Regions from separate parts of the Homo sapiens genome. Here all the other regions are linked to region 1. Evidence: promoter capture Hi-C in human tissues and cell types (Jung and others, 2019). All regions are on one chromosome and are shown on one strand. The core of a region is centred on a gene start or on the middle of the fragment in contact, and the rest is flanking DNA. Distances in the headings are between cores, read along the strand shown. Region 1 holds the start of IER3IP1 (immediate early response 3 interacting protein 1). Region 2 overlaps SMAD2 (SMAD family member 2). Region 3 overlaps SMAD2 (SMAD family member 2).

What was found. Contacts are between HindIII fragments. The study calls those that stand out against the background at their distance.
Region 2: a contact is called between a fragment that was not itself captured here and the fragment with the promoter of IER3IP1 in region 1, in 1 of the 25 tissues and cell types used here (lymphoblastoid cells).
Region 3: a contact is called between a fragment that was not itself captured here and the fragment with the promoter of IER3IP1 in region 1, in 1 of the 25 tissues and cell types used here (lymphoblastoid cells).

Annotation. Positions count from the first base shown.
Region 1 is chr18:47,173,920-47,178,307 of GRCh38, forward strand. It overlaps IER3IP1 (immediate early response 3 interacting protein 1), which reads right to left and starts at 2,445. Exons shown (of 3, transcript NM_016097.5): 1 at 2,268-2,445. The coding sequence starts at 2,358. RefSeq lists enhancers at 2,354-2,473, 2,484-2,613. The HindIII fragment of the contact is 11,428 bases long and covers 1-4,388 here.
Region 2 is chr18:47,894,558-47,898,945 of GRCh38, forward strand. SMAD2 (SMAD family member 2) reads right to left here. Exons shown (of 11, transcript NM_005901.6): 2 at 1,964-2,252. The coding sequence starts at 2,199. Among named protein-coding and RNA genes, the nearest start is that of SMAD2, 34 kb to the right of the region's middle. RefSeq lists a silencer at 1,188-1,388. The HindIII fragment of the contact is 3,988 bases long and covers 1-3,907 here.
Region 3 is chr18:47,811,648-47,816,035 of GRCh38, forward strand. It overlaps SMAD2 (SMAD family member 2), which reads right to left. Exons shown (of 11, transcript NM_005901.6): 11 at 1-4,388. Among named protein-coding and RNA genes, the nearest start is that of SMAD2, 120 kb to the right of the region's middle. The HindIII fragment of the contact is 3,563 bases long and covers 445-4,007 here.

The sequences.
Region 1 (4,388 bases), core at 1,195-3,694:
CATCTGTGTGTCTCCAAATCTCTCTTTTCTTATAAGGGCACCAGTCATTGGCTCTAAAGCCCTCAATCTAACCCAGTATGATCTCATCTTAACTTGATTATATCTGCAAAGACTCTGTTTCCAAACAAGGTCACCTTCATAGGTATCAAGGGTTGGGACTTCAACACATCTTTTTGAGGGACACAATTCAAACCCCAACTTGATCCCTTCTACTTTTCTGGATAGCGGTGAACAGATGAACTCTGGAAGATGACATTTGAATCCTAGCTCCACCACTTTCTACTTTCTACCTGTGTGTTCTTACAAAAGCCACCTACTCTCTTTGTGATTCTAGTTTTCCACTGGAAAACAGAAACTCTCTCATAGAGTTGCTGTGAAGGCTACACCAGTTAATATATGTAAGGCACTTGATACAGATCCTGTACGTAAGTGCTACGTAAGTATTAGCTATTATTATTGTTGTCATACCCACTTGTATCTACTTGCCCTATTTAGAATTGTTCTTCCTTGGGAGGCCGAGGTGGGCAGATCACGAGGTCAGGAGTTCGAGACCAGCCTGACCAACATGGTGAAACCCCATTTCTACTACAAATACAAAAATTAGCCAGGCTTGGTGGTGCGTGCCTGTAATCCCAGCCATTCGGGAAGCTGAGGCAGGAGAATCGCTTGAACCTGGGAGGCGGAGGATGCAGTGAACCGAGATTGCGCCACTGCACTCCAGCCGGGGGGACAGGGTGAGACTCCGTCTCAAAAAAAAAAAAAAATGGGTCTTCCCACATCCACTGCTTTCCCTTCCAATCTTTCCTCCGTATTGTAGCCTCAAGGATCTTGCAAATAACACAAATCTGGTCATGTCGCTGTCTTAAGACCCTCTTCTCACCTGCCTCAGTTTTCACACCAGGTCTACACTGCTTAAAGCTCTCCTCACCCTTCCAGCTCCTCCCAACCCTTCACCTTCACCGAGTTAATGTTTACTCATGTATCAGATTTCAGGTTAGACACGCTTCCTCCAAGAAGCTTTCGCAGATACACAAGTTAGTATCTGCCCGTACTTCTCTTACATAATACTCTCTATACTTGTTATTGTCATTTGTTTAGTTTTTATTTAGATTAACTTCCATCAGAAGGGCAGAGTAGCTGCTGTAACTTCAGTTACTATAAATGGGCCTGGCACATACTTTGCACTCAATAAATATCTTCTGAAGTAAATGAAATGAATCAATCTTGCTCCTGGGTTTACGTTTCAGTGATTCAAACGGGCATACTTGGTACACAACGTGAGGTCCTGGAAGGTATAACTTGTGTTTTCATTTTTGAATTTCTAAATTCTAGCAGAGTTTTTGGCACACTCTATGCACCCAATAAGCTATCTGAATAAACTTTTCTTGGAACATGAGTGTCTGAATGTCCTGATAACTCCAACACGTTCCCTTCCTGTAATTCCTAAAGCCCAGGAACACTTATTGCCTTCCATCAGTTAGTGAACTACTGATGCTCCAAAATGGGTCACGCCTCCTTCCCCTCCACACCCAACTCGTTTTGTTTTGTTTGTTTTGTTTTGTTAGACGGAGTCTCACTCTATTGCCCAGGCTGGAGTGCAATGGCGCAATCTCGGCTCACTGCAACCTCTGCCTCCCAGGTTTAAGTGATTCTCCTGCCTCAGCCTCCCGCCCGGCTAATTTTTGTATTTCCACCACCACGTCCGGCTAATCTTTGTATTTTTAGTAGAGACGGGGTTTTACCATGTTGGCCAGGCTGGTCCCAAACTCCTGACATCATGATCCGCCGGCCTCGGCCTGCCAAAGTGCTGGGATTACAGGCGGGAGCCACCGCGCCCGGCCCCACACCCCCAACTCTTAGCCCGAAACTCAGACCCCGGGTTTTCGACTATTAAAAGTAGTCACAGGACCGCGACACTGCACTTCAGCCTGGGCAAAAGAGCGAGACTCCCCCTCAAAAAAAAAAGTAGTCACAGAAAACTGAATTAAATTACTGACCTGAAGTAATCGCAAGCAGAGGCGTCCCTGACTGACTTCTATATCCCTCCACCCCAACCCCCTGGGCCCTGCACAGCGGGTGTCTGTTGAATATTCTCCCGGCTGTTGAGCCCAAACCTGATGAGAGGAAAGGCTCGGCTTCCACTCCAAGCCGAGCCTTCCGCTGTTCTTCTGTCCCGGCCCTTGGTGTCCCCTCACGCGGCCCCATTAGGTTACGCGCCCCCGGGGACTCCGCCGCCGCCCCAGCCCGCGCCCCGCGGTCCCACTCACTGTTCTTGAGGAATCGCTCCTCGTGCAGCACTGCGATGGCGTTGACGCAGAGCAGGGCTGCCTGCAGCAGTGAGTACAGGGTAAAGGCCATGGCCGTCCGAGGCCGCCCCGAAGTCCAAGCGATTTCTCTCCCGCCGCCGCAAGGGACGTGGCGCCTCCACGGCCGGCGCCTTCCTACGGAAGCCGATGGGGCCCAAAACGAACTCTCCGGGAAGCCCCGCCTCCATCTGGCTAAGAACCGCCCCTCGCTGAAGACTGCAAGTCCTGCCGCTTGTCTAGACCGGTGATGTGCAATCAATGCTCTGATGTGGCCAGTGCTGCAGGTGCAAAATACACACCGGATTTCACACACTTGGAACTGGAACAAGGATGAAGAATATCCCAATAATTTTTTTTTTTTTGAGATGGAGTCTGGCCCTGTCGCCCAAACTGGAGTGCAGTGGCACGATCTCGGCTCACTGCAAGCTCCGACTCCCGGGTTCACGCCATTCTCCTGCCTCAGCCTCCCAAGTAGCTGGGACTACAGGTGCCCGCCACCACGCCCGGCTAATTTTTTGTATTTTTAGTAGAGACGGGGTTTCACCGTGTTAGCCAGGATGGTCTCAATCTCCTGACCTCGTGATTCCCCCCTCCTCGGCCTCCCAATAATTTTTAAATGTTGATAACATGTTGAAATGAAAATATTTTGAGGCCGGGCGCAGTGGCTCACGCCTGTAATTCTAGCACTTTGGGAAACCGAGGCGGGCAAATCACCTAAGGTCAAGAGTTCGAGACCAGTCTGGCCAACATGGCAAAACCCTGTCTCTACTGAAAATACAAAAATTAGCTGGGTGTGATGGTGGGCTCCTGTAATCCCAGCTACTCAGGAGGCTGAGAGAAGAGAATCACTTGAACCCGGGAGGCAGAGACTGCAGTGAGCCGAGATCCAGCCTGGGTGACAGAGCAAGAGGAAAGAAGGAAGGAAGGGAGGAAGGTTTCTTGTTTATTTTTAATTATTTTATTTAATGTGGTTATGAAGATACTGTAAATGACATGTGACGCTTGCATTATATTTCTATTGCTCAGTACTGCACTTGATGCTCCCAGGAGATACAGGAGATACTAATATTCCCATTTCAGATTTCAGAATGCTAAAACAAAATAACTGTTTTAAAATTACTCAGTGAGAAACATCCCCTCCTTGACCAAACTCCAACCAAGATCCTCTGAGCCTCTTCTTTTTTTTTTTCCCCCCCCAGGAACAGGGTCTTGCTCTGTTGCCCAGGCTGGAGTGCAGTGGCACCATCATAGCTCAATGCAGCCTTCAGCTCCTGGCTCGAGCAGTCCTCCTGCCTTAGCCTCCTGCTTAGCTGTATGTGATGGTTAAGACTGAGTGTCAACTTGATTGGATTGAAGGATGCAAAGTATTGATCCTGGGTGTGTCTGTGAGGGTGTTGCCAAAGGAGATTAACATTTGAGTCAGTGGGCTGGGAAAGACAGGTCCACTCTTAATCCAAGTGGGCACCATCTAATCAGCTGCTGGAGTGGCCAGGATATAAAGCAGGCAAAAAACCAATGAAAAGGGTATGCCAAGACCAGCTCGGTTGGGGAGACCCTAACCCAGCGGTGCTAGAGGAATTAAAGACACACACAGAGGTGTGAAGTGGGAAATCAGGGGTCTTATAGCCTTCAGAGCTGAGATCCCCGAACAAAGATTTACCCACGTATTTATTAACAGCAAACCAGTCATTAGCATTGTTTCTATAGATGTTAAATTAACTAAAAGTATCCCTTATGGGAAATGAAGGGATGGGCCGAATTAATTGCAGCAGGAACACATCCTTAAGACACAGATCTCTCAGGCTTTTGTTTGTGGCTTAAGAATGCCTTTAAGCAGTTTTCCAACCTGGGTGGGCCAGGTATTCCTTGCCCTCATTCCCGTAAACCCACAACCTTCCAGCTTGGGCGTTAGGGCCATTATGGACATGTTATAGTGCTGCAGAGATTTTATTTATGGCCAGTTTTGGGGCTAGTTTATGGCCAGACTGTTGGGGGCTTGCTCTCAACAAGGGTAGACTGGCTTAGCCTCCCAGCCTACATCTTTCTCCCATGCTGGATGCTTCCTACCCTTGAACGTTGGAC
Region 2 (4,388 bases), core at 664-3,163, 720 kb after region 1:
CCGCACTACATGTGATGAAACAGGCTTCTCCTAATTCCTCCTTTACCCCGCTCAACTCAAAATCACCAGTATTCCTCCAGAAGGAAACTTTCCACAAGCCTCCTCTGGATATAGCCCCAAGCATACTTCTTTTATAACATCTACCAAGCCTCATGAAACCATCTTTTTCTAAGTTTATCTCCCTTACTAGGAAGTAAGTAGTTTAAAAGCAAACACTGTATCTTAACTCCAGTGAGGAAGAGCACACCAGGCACATAGTGGGCATATGATAAATGGTTACCTAATTGAAATCCCAAGCACTACACAATGAAGAATGAAATATAGCTTGACTTCTCAGCCCATTCACCAGGAAGTCCTCAGTTCCACTTCTAAAACCCATGCCAAATCTGTTTACTTCGTGTGCTAGCACAGCCACCACGCCAGTCCAGCCTCTATCGTCTTGCATTTAGATTCCTCACAGCCTCCTAATTTTCCTGCTTCCATCTACCCTACTACACACATACCACTCTCCCGCAGCCAGAAAAATCTTTGTAAAAATATGTAAGATCCTCTTTAAAATCCATCAGAATAAACTTACTTGCATCCTGTTATATTCAGACTAACATTCAAACTCTCACCACACTCTAGGATGCCCTGTATAAGCTTTGGGCAAGTCTTGTCCTCCATCTACACTGGGCTCCTTTTAAATATTCTAATACAAGAAGCTCACCTCAGTGTCTTCACTCTGGCTCTTCCCTCTGCCTAGAAGACTCTTCCCTCAGTTGGCTGCTGCTTCTCCAAGCTCCACGCAAGCATCACAATCCGACCCAAAGCAGCTTTTTAATTCTTCATTCTATCATATCACTGCATTTGGTTGTCTTCTTTGCACTCATTACCATATCAAATTATAATTAATTTGTTTACTTGTTTATCGTGTATTTCTATCCCTTAGGAAGGCAGGAGTTTTGTGTTTTGTTAATCACTGTTATCCTCATATGTCTAGAAACAGTGCCTTCTACATAGCAAACACTCAATAAGCATTTGTAAAACAAATCAACAAACCAAAAAAGCAACCTTTAAGATATACATAAAACAAGTAAGGGAAAGAAATGGATGGTCTACCAAACAAGGCAAGAAACATTCTACTGTTAGTATTTGCAACTAGACAGGCTGCACTGGTGTTATTGGGATCTGTTATCTATAAGCATCAAAAGTGTACTTCTCAAAGTTCAAAGTCAAGTAGAATGGTTTCACATGCTATATGCTAGCCCACGGTATGACACTGCAAACTATCATTTTAGAGAATTCTTACATTTAACAATCTCCCCAAAATCTGTAATGTACACAAGTAGTAAAACACACTTTAAAACACCTGTCACTTAATTAAAAAACAATACTTATGACAGTGGTACTTATCTGTAAATGATTAAATTTATCCTCAGAAAACTTCAGACTTTTAAAGTAACAGGTCCTCCTAACCTAAGAGGCAGGTCTTTAAGACAGGTTCTGACTAATGCCTACAACAATTAAGAAGCCACCTAACACACTATTCTTTCTTGGAAGCAATGCTGCAACGCAAAGAAAAACCATATAAAATTCATTAAAAAGTGAGCAGCCTCTTTTCACCCCTGATGAAAGTTTTGACTAAAGGAGGAGAAAACTGTAGGTTGCTACTATGTTAGTGATAGAAAAAGCTTCAATTCTTTATTCAAGTATCATTCAATCACGGAAATGAGGATAACATACAAATGTAGGCAATGAAGATAATAAATCTAAGTATCTTATTTAGCTTGATTAAACCTCACTATTCAAGAAAATAATTTATAAAACAAGTCAGCTAGCAAAAACAATTTATACAAGGTTAAAAACAGTCATATTTCAATCATCACTTTTTACAGGCAACTTGAAAGGAACACAAATTCAGTAACTTTCCTTCAGATTCCTTGACATAATTTGATCAAACCTGGGATCTAACAAAACTTACCTTGGTATGGTAACACATTTAGTATTACAGTTTTGAGTGGTGATGGCTTTCTCAAGCTCATCTAATCGTCCTGTTTTCTTTAGCTTCTTCACCAGACTTTTCACTGCTTTCTCACACCACTTTTCTTCCTGCCCATTCTGCTCTCCTCCGCCTGCTCCTCCAGACCCACCAGCTGACTTCTTCCATCCCAGCAGTCTCTTCACAACTGGCGGCGTGAATGGCAAGATGGACGACATGTTCTTACCAAAGGCAGCAAGCCACGCTAGGAAAACAGCCTCTTGTATCGAACCTAGCAGAAATATTGAAAGGATGATGTAGAGACTACCTTGAACATCAAGTAATAATTTCAACTTATCATAGAAAGCAAACTGCAAAGCAAGATAGAAATTCGAATTATGACTTTCCCAATAGACTTCTCCACCCATGAAAACGTTATCTTTATGAATTTAAATGAATGATGGAAACAAACCCTTCTAAAAACAAGAATGTTGTAAGGACTCCTCTTGTGGGAAAATACAGTAATTTTGCAAGTAAAATCAGATACTTTTAACGATTTTTCACCACCAATACTATTTTAAACTCTTAGTAGTGTCAATTAAAATATTTTCACAAAAGGTTCTCTTACTTTTTAGAACTTCACTCTAATCTCAAAAGACTATACAAAAATACATTGAAAATTTGTAAGCCCACTCTCCCCCGGGTTTTAAACTTTCATAACTAATAGGAGGCAAAATCTACAGTTACAAGAAGGGAAAATGCGTAAAGTGTGAAGTAATCAAGAATAAAGAAATAAACATGGCAAACAGAGTCCGTGGAGAAAAGCTGTAGTCCGGTTTCACCTGCTCTTGAGAGAAATTTTTTAACACATGTTTTTTTCATTTTCATCTAAATAACAATTTGCATAGTGAGTAAAGTCAGATAGTTTCTCTTCCCAATTTAAGGAATTGTACCTTGTCTTTTCTCTTCCATAGGAATCATTTTTATTAAGCTGTTTTGTCTATTCAGCGTCATTTTACAAATATAAACATGTATACATACAACTAACCACATTCCCACCTTATTGCTGTACAAAAGTAGCATAATATTCCTTATTTTGTATATCTTGAAATTATTTTTTTATTTTTATTTTTTTGCTTAATTCCCTGTAGGTCATTCCTTATCAGTTCACACAGAATTTAGAAAGCACTGTCCCCTCAATTTTCTAGACTCCACTACTGATACTGGTAAGTCCCACATAACTTTTATTCCTGATCCTTTAATTGGGGTTTAAAAATTGTTTCGCTCCAGAAGCTCTTAATATCTTAGCTCTTACGCTTTTCTTTCCTTTGCCTTCAATTTTAGTGAGATATAGGAAAAAGGAAAATGAATGTGTTCAATTTGCCATATTTAATAAAGTTCCCAAAAGGCATCCTTTTTAGAAAGTAAAGAGGTCTGTAGTCTTTACATCACACACCCCAAATACTGAAATTGTAGTTTTCAAAGTGTATCTTTAAGAAAACAATGATGCTTACATTTTCATTAGTTTGTTCCTTAATTATCATAATGATCAGACAATAGTTTTTAAACGTAGAGGAGGAAGTACAAGTTAAAATAATAATAAGGCATCATTTCATGCCCAATCTAGCTGGCAAAAATTGAATTAATTAAAATACCTACTGCTGGAGAAGATGTGAAGAAATTGTTATCATTCCACATTGCTGGTGAAAAGGTCAAATGTGACAGCTTTATTCTAAGTAATCTGGCAATGTGCCACGTGTTACAACTAGTAACTGGATTATACGTGTATAAACAAAAATCTAGGATATTAATATGGGTTGCAGATATACCAATATGCAGAAAAGGGGGTGAAAAGATGAAAAAGGCTGAATGATATGGCCATTGTGTATGTTTTTGTGTATGTGTGTACAAAAAACTGGATAAAACATTTTTAAAGGAAAAAAACAGTTTTTAAGCACACTTTGCACATATTCTTAACGTTAAAGAAGATCCTAACACAAGATGCAAATTTATTTCCCATCAAAGAACATGGCTAATTTTCATAGATTATATGCTAAGATTCATTTCCAATGTACACAAACTGCATTCCTGCTCTAACCTCTCCATAATTCCATTATTTTGGTTTGCACCACATGGAAGAATAATTTTTTTTTTTAAATATTCCCTCTTCTCAGGATGGTCAATGACTAGTGAAGAAGACTGCCATGATTAAAATACACATGACAATTAAGAGAAATTGCAAGGGGGATTACAGGTACACAAAGAAACACCATCTGATTTTGCTTTAGGCGTCAGGAAAGATTTTCCTGAGGAAATATTTGCACTTCCTTGGCAGCTTGCCATTTATTCATTCCTTTTTGCATTCAACAATTTTTTTTTTTTGCCTGTCTATTGTGCCTGTATTTACCTGTTTATTCTCAAATCCAGT
Region 3 (4,388 bases), core at 976-3,475, 640 kb after region 1:
TCAGAACCTTTGATCACAAAACAGACAATGAGAGCAGCTGATCAAAATGGAACCCTATGAAAGGCAAAGAGCAGGGTGGAGGAAACATACCATGCATTTCAAGGAAAACAACTTAAAAATTAATGAGCTCTCAGGAAAAGATGGCATCACAAGAGAATCAACCAACCTAGATCTTCTGAGCACCTGTCAGTCGATCAAGAAGCATTTATTGCATGCCTACCATATATAAAGCACTGCTGGAAATGTTGAAGCAGACACAAAGATGTAGCATATATAAAAAGGAAATGTTTGGGAAAAAGTGATTTTAGCCTCTGACCTCAAGGTGCTTGTATTAGTCTGTTCTCACACTGCTATAAAGAAATACCTGAGACTGGGTAATTTATAAAGGAAAGAGGTTTAATTGACTCAACAGTTCCACATGGCTGGTGATATAGTTTGGCTGTGTCCCCACCCAAATCTCATCTTGAATTGGAGCTCCCATAATTCCCCATATTATGTGAGGGACCCAGTGAGAGGTAACTGAATCATGGGGGTGGGTCTTTCCCGTGCTGCTCTTGTAATAGTGAATAAGTCTCACGAGATCTGATGGTTTTATAAAGGGGAGTTCCCCTACACAAGCTCTCTCGCCTGATGCCATGTAAGATGTGTCTTGCTCCCCCTTCACCTTCTGCCATAATTGTGAGGCCTCCCCAGCCATGTAAAACTGTGAGTCAATTAAACCTCTTTTATAAATTACCCAGTCTCCGGTATCTCTTTATTAGCCGCGTGAGATCAGACTAATACAGCTGGGGAGGCCTCAGGAAACTTACAATTATGGCAGAAGGGGAAGCAGGCACCTTCTTCACAAGGTGGCAGAAGAGAGTGTGAGTGTGTGAAAGTACAGGAAAAACTACCATTTATAAAACCATCAGATCCTGTGAGAATTCACTATCATGAGAACAGCATGGGAGAACCACCCCCATAATACAATTACTTCCTTCCCTCAACATGTAGGGATTACAATTCAAGATGAGATTTGGGTGGGGATGGAGACCCAAACCATATCAGAGCTCATAACTTAAGTGGTGGTAATCAAATCTAAAGCACATTTTATAGCACACACACTCGCTATTCCAAGGTTCCTTTCATGAGTGTCCATGTCACTGTCTCCCCAGGACCCCCACAGGAGCCTTGCACAGGTATCTCATGAACATCCAAGTACCACTTCTTGTAGGAAGCAGGGGTAACTTTCAATAGGGGTGGTTAAGGAAGACTCTGCAGAGAGGATGGAATTTAAACTGGGTTCTGGCCAGGCAGGGTGACTCACACCTGTAATCCCAGCAGTTTGGGAGACCAAGGCAGGTGGATCACCTGAGGTCAGGAGTTTGAGACCAGCCTGGCCAACATAGTGAAACCCTGTCTCTACCAAAAATACAAAAATTAGCCAGGTGTGGTGGCGGGCACCTGCAATCCCAGCTACTCAAGAGGCTGAGGCAGAAGAATTGCTTGAATCCAGGAGGCAGAGGTTGCAGTGAGTCAAGACTGTGCCATTGCACTCCAGCCTGAGTGATGAAACTTGGTCTCAAAAATAACTAAATAACTAAATAAAATAAACTGGGTCCTTATTTTTAGAAAAGGATCTCACTTTGTCATCCAGGCTAGAGTGCAGTAGCACAAACATGGCTCATGAAGCCTCGACTTCCTGGGCTCAAGCAATCCTCCCACCTCAGCCTCTCAAGTAGCTGGGACTACAGGTGCCTGCCACCATGCCCAGCTAATTTTTTTTTTTTTTTTTTTTGAGATGGAGTCTTGCAATGTCACCCAGGCTGGAGTGCAGTGGCGCAATCTCGGCTCACTGCAACCTCTGCCTCCCGGGTTCATGCGATTCTCCTGCCTCAGCCTCCCGAGTAGCTGGGATTACAGGCACACACCACCACACCCGGCTAATTTTCTGCATTTTTAGTACAGATGGGGTTTCACTATGTTGGCCAGACTGGTCTCAAACTCGTGACCTCATGATCCACCTGCCTCGGCCTCCCAAAGTGCTGGGATTACAGGCATGAGCCACTGTACCCGGCCCCACAATTTTTTTTTTTTTTTTTTTTTGGAGAGATGGGATCTTGCTATGTTGATCAGGCTGGAAACCTGGGTCTTGAATAATGGATACATTTGGAAGTGCAGAGCAAAGGCCAGAGAGATATCCAAGCCAGAGAGATATCCAAGGCAGAACAAAGCTCATAATTTAACAAGAAAGGTAGGCATAGATAGGCCTAATTATGATGAATGCTCTCTTACCAGTATAAACAAATTACAAAGGGAGTGATGAGAAGAGGCAATGAAGTTTGGGGAGGGAAAGAAAAGTCTGTGGTGGAGGTGATAACCTGAACTTGGCTTTGAGGAATAAAGAGTTTTATATCAGGGCATCAAGAGAAGGATATTCAAGGTACTTAGGACCAGAACAGGCAAAGGCACTGAAGCAAGAGAGTCTGGGGCAAGAATGTCTCTATTGGGTCAAGACTTTGACAATATTAAAGATTCCATTTTCTTCATATATGCCCCCCTGCTGTCTTTCCAATAAAGGTAAGCCCTGAAGCCTGACAGTCACAGGAAAGGAGAGGGTGTGTACTAGAGTAACAGCACAGTTGCTACTCAGCTGTGAATCTCAGAGCCTGCCTTTATTATCTTGATTATTCTTTGGCATCTCTAGGAAGATGATAAGTAGTCTTCAAAGTCAGACTTTACTGAGAATGAGAAGGGAGTTCTACATGCTAAGAGCTCCATTCACATACTAAAAGCAAAGCTTGGACAACTGAACATGAGTTTTACTCCTAACCATGGATAAGAGAAACTGAGAATACGATGTGAGAAGAGTCTCTTCATTAGGCAGGAGTGGAATGACTCCCAGGGCAGGGAGAGATTGATTGAGATTGCAATTGCCCTGTTGGGAAATAAACGGAAACTTCAGGATGGGTATGCGAGTCTTGGAGCAGCAGGGTTAGTCAACTACTTTCCTGGCATAGCCTGGGGAAGACTGCAAGCCACTCAAAAAAGTCCTACTCATGACTTAGAGGCTTACCCAGTATGGCACAGGAGCACTAGCTCAGCATTGGTGGAAGGAGGTGTCTAGTCAGTCTGAGAAAATGTTGGCTTCCCAAAGCTTGAGCAAGATGTTCAGTACATCCCAAAGTTCCAACATCATCCCTTCCCACCCACTCCAAAGCCCAGCAGATTAACAGTCCCATAGTTGGGACATGGAAGCTATTAAGGTAGAGACCTTGAGACCAAAGGCAATGACAGAGTTGTGGTCAGGAGCAGGGCATGACAGCAGTGAACAAAAGCCAGGGACCCACTTACATTACCCAGTAGACTCAGTGACATCCAGCAAAGATGGCAGGATGAGCACCAGCAGCAGGACCGTCAAGGACCTCAGCACATACATTAGAGAAACTCTTTCCTGTGTCACCTGGAGATGACTGTTCTCACCCACTAGATGCCATCATGAGGAAGAAGCTAGGAAGAACCTTTGAAAAGCTGAGCATTTATCCAAAGAGATGGTTTTAAGCCTGAGATAGGCTATTTGAATCGAAAGAGAACGTTATCTTTGATTGGCAAGTTTAAGGCCATCCACCTCGTCCCACACCTTCCCAAAACCAGATGGGATGCATGAGAAATTGATGTGAAATGAAGGAACTGTAACTTCTTTTCTGCATGATCTGAGTTTTAATGTGTGGGAGCTGGGAAGAGGGAAGAACATTGATAGAAAATCTGAAAGCCCACAGGGAATGTGGTCTAAAGCAGAGGTTTAAGTCCTGGCTGATAATCATTTTGGGTTTTCTGAAAATGCAGATCCCAGTGCTCCAATTCCAGACCTGCTAAAGCAGAATCTCACAATTGAGGCCAGGGAACCTACATTTTAGAAGCTCTCCTTCTGACTCCAATTTGGAAACCATTTATTTAACCACTAGTACAAAAACTGGCCTTGAATAAGACATCACTTCCTCCAAGTCTGAGTACAGCACGCAAGGGCAACTGCAGCAAATGGAGGGGTGATTTAGTAAGGAGGGGGTGAAACCGAAAATCAACAAGGTTTGTGTGAACTGGTCTCGACACACTTGGCTGTGAATAGCAGGGATAGAAAGTAGTTATGGGGCTTGCAAGGACATTGTCTTAATTTTCCTGTTGTCTTAACAGAGGATTTACTGAGCCCATGTATGCTGTAGGAAAAAGCTAGTGGTGCCAGAGTTTAAGTTTTCAGAGGAGGAATAATTGACCTATGTATGAGTTCTAGAGAAGCCTTGCAGACTTACCCAGGGCTCAGAGCACATGGCTTAGTCCTGACATAAAATACCATTTTTCCTCTACCACTTGGCTAAGAAGCTGAGGAGGAACTGGCAGTGAGGGAGGAGGTT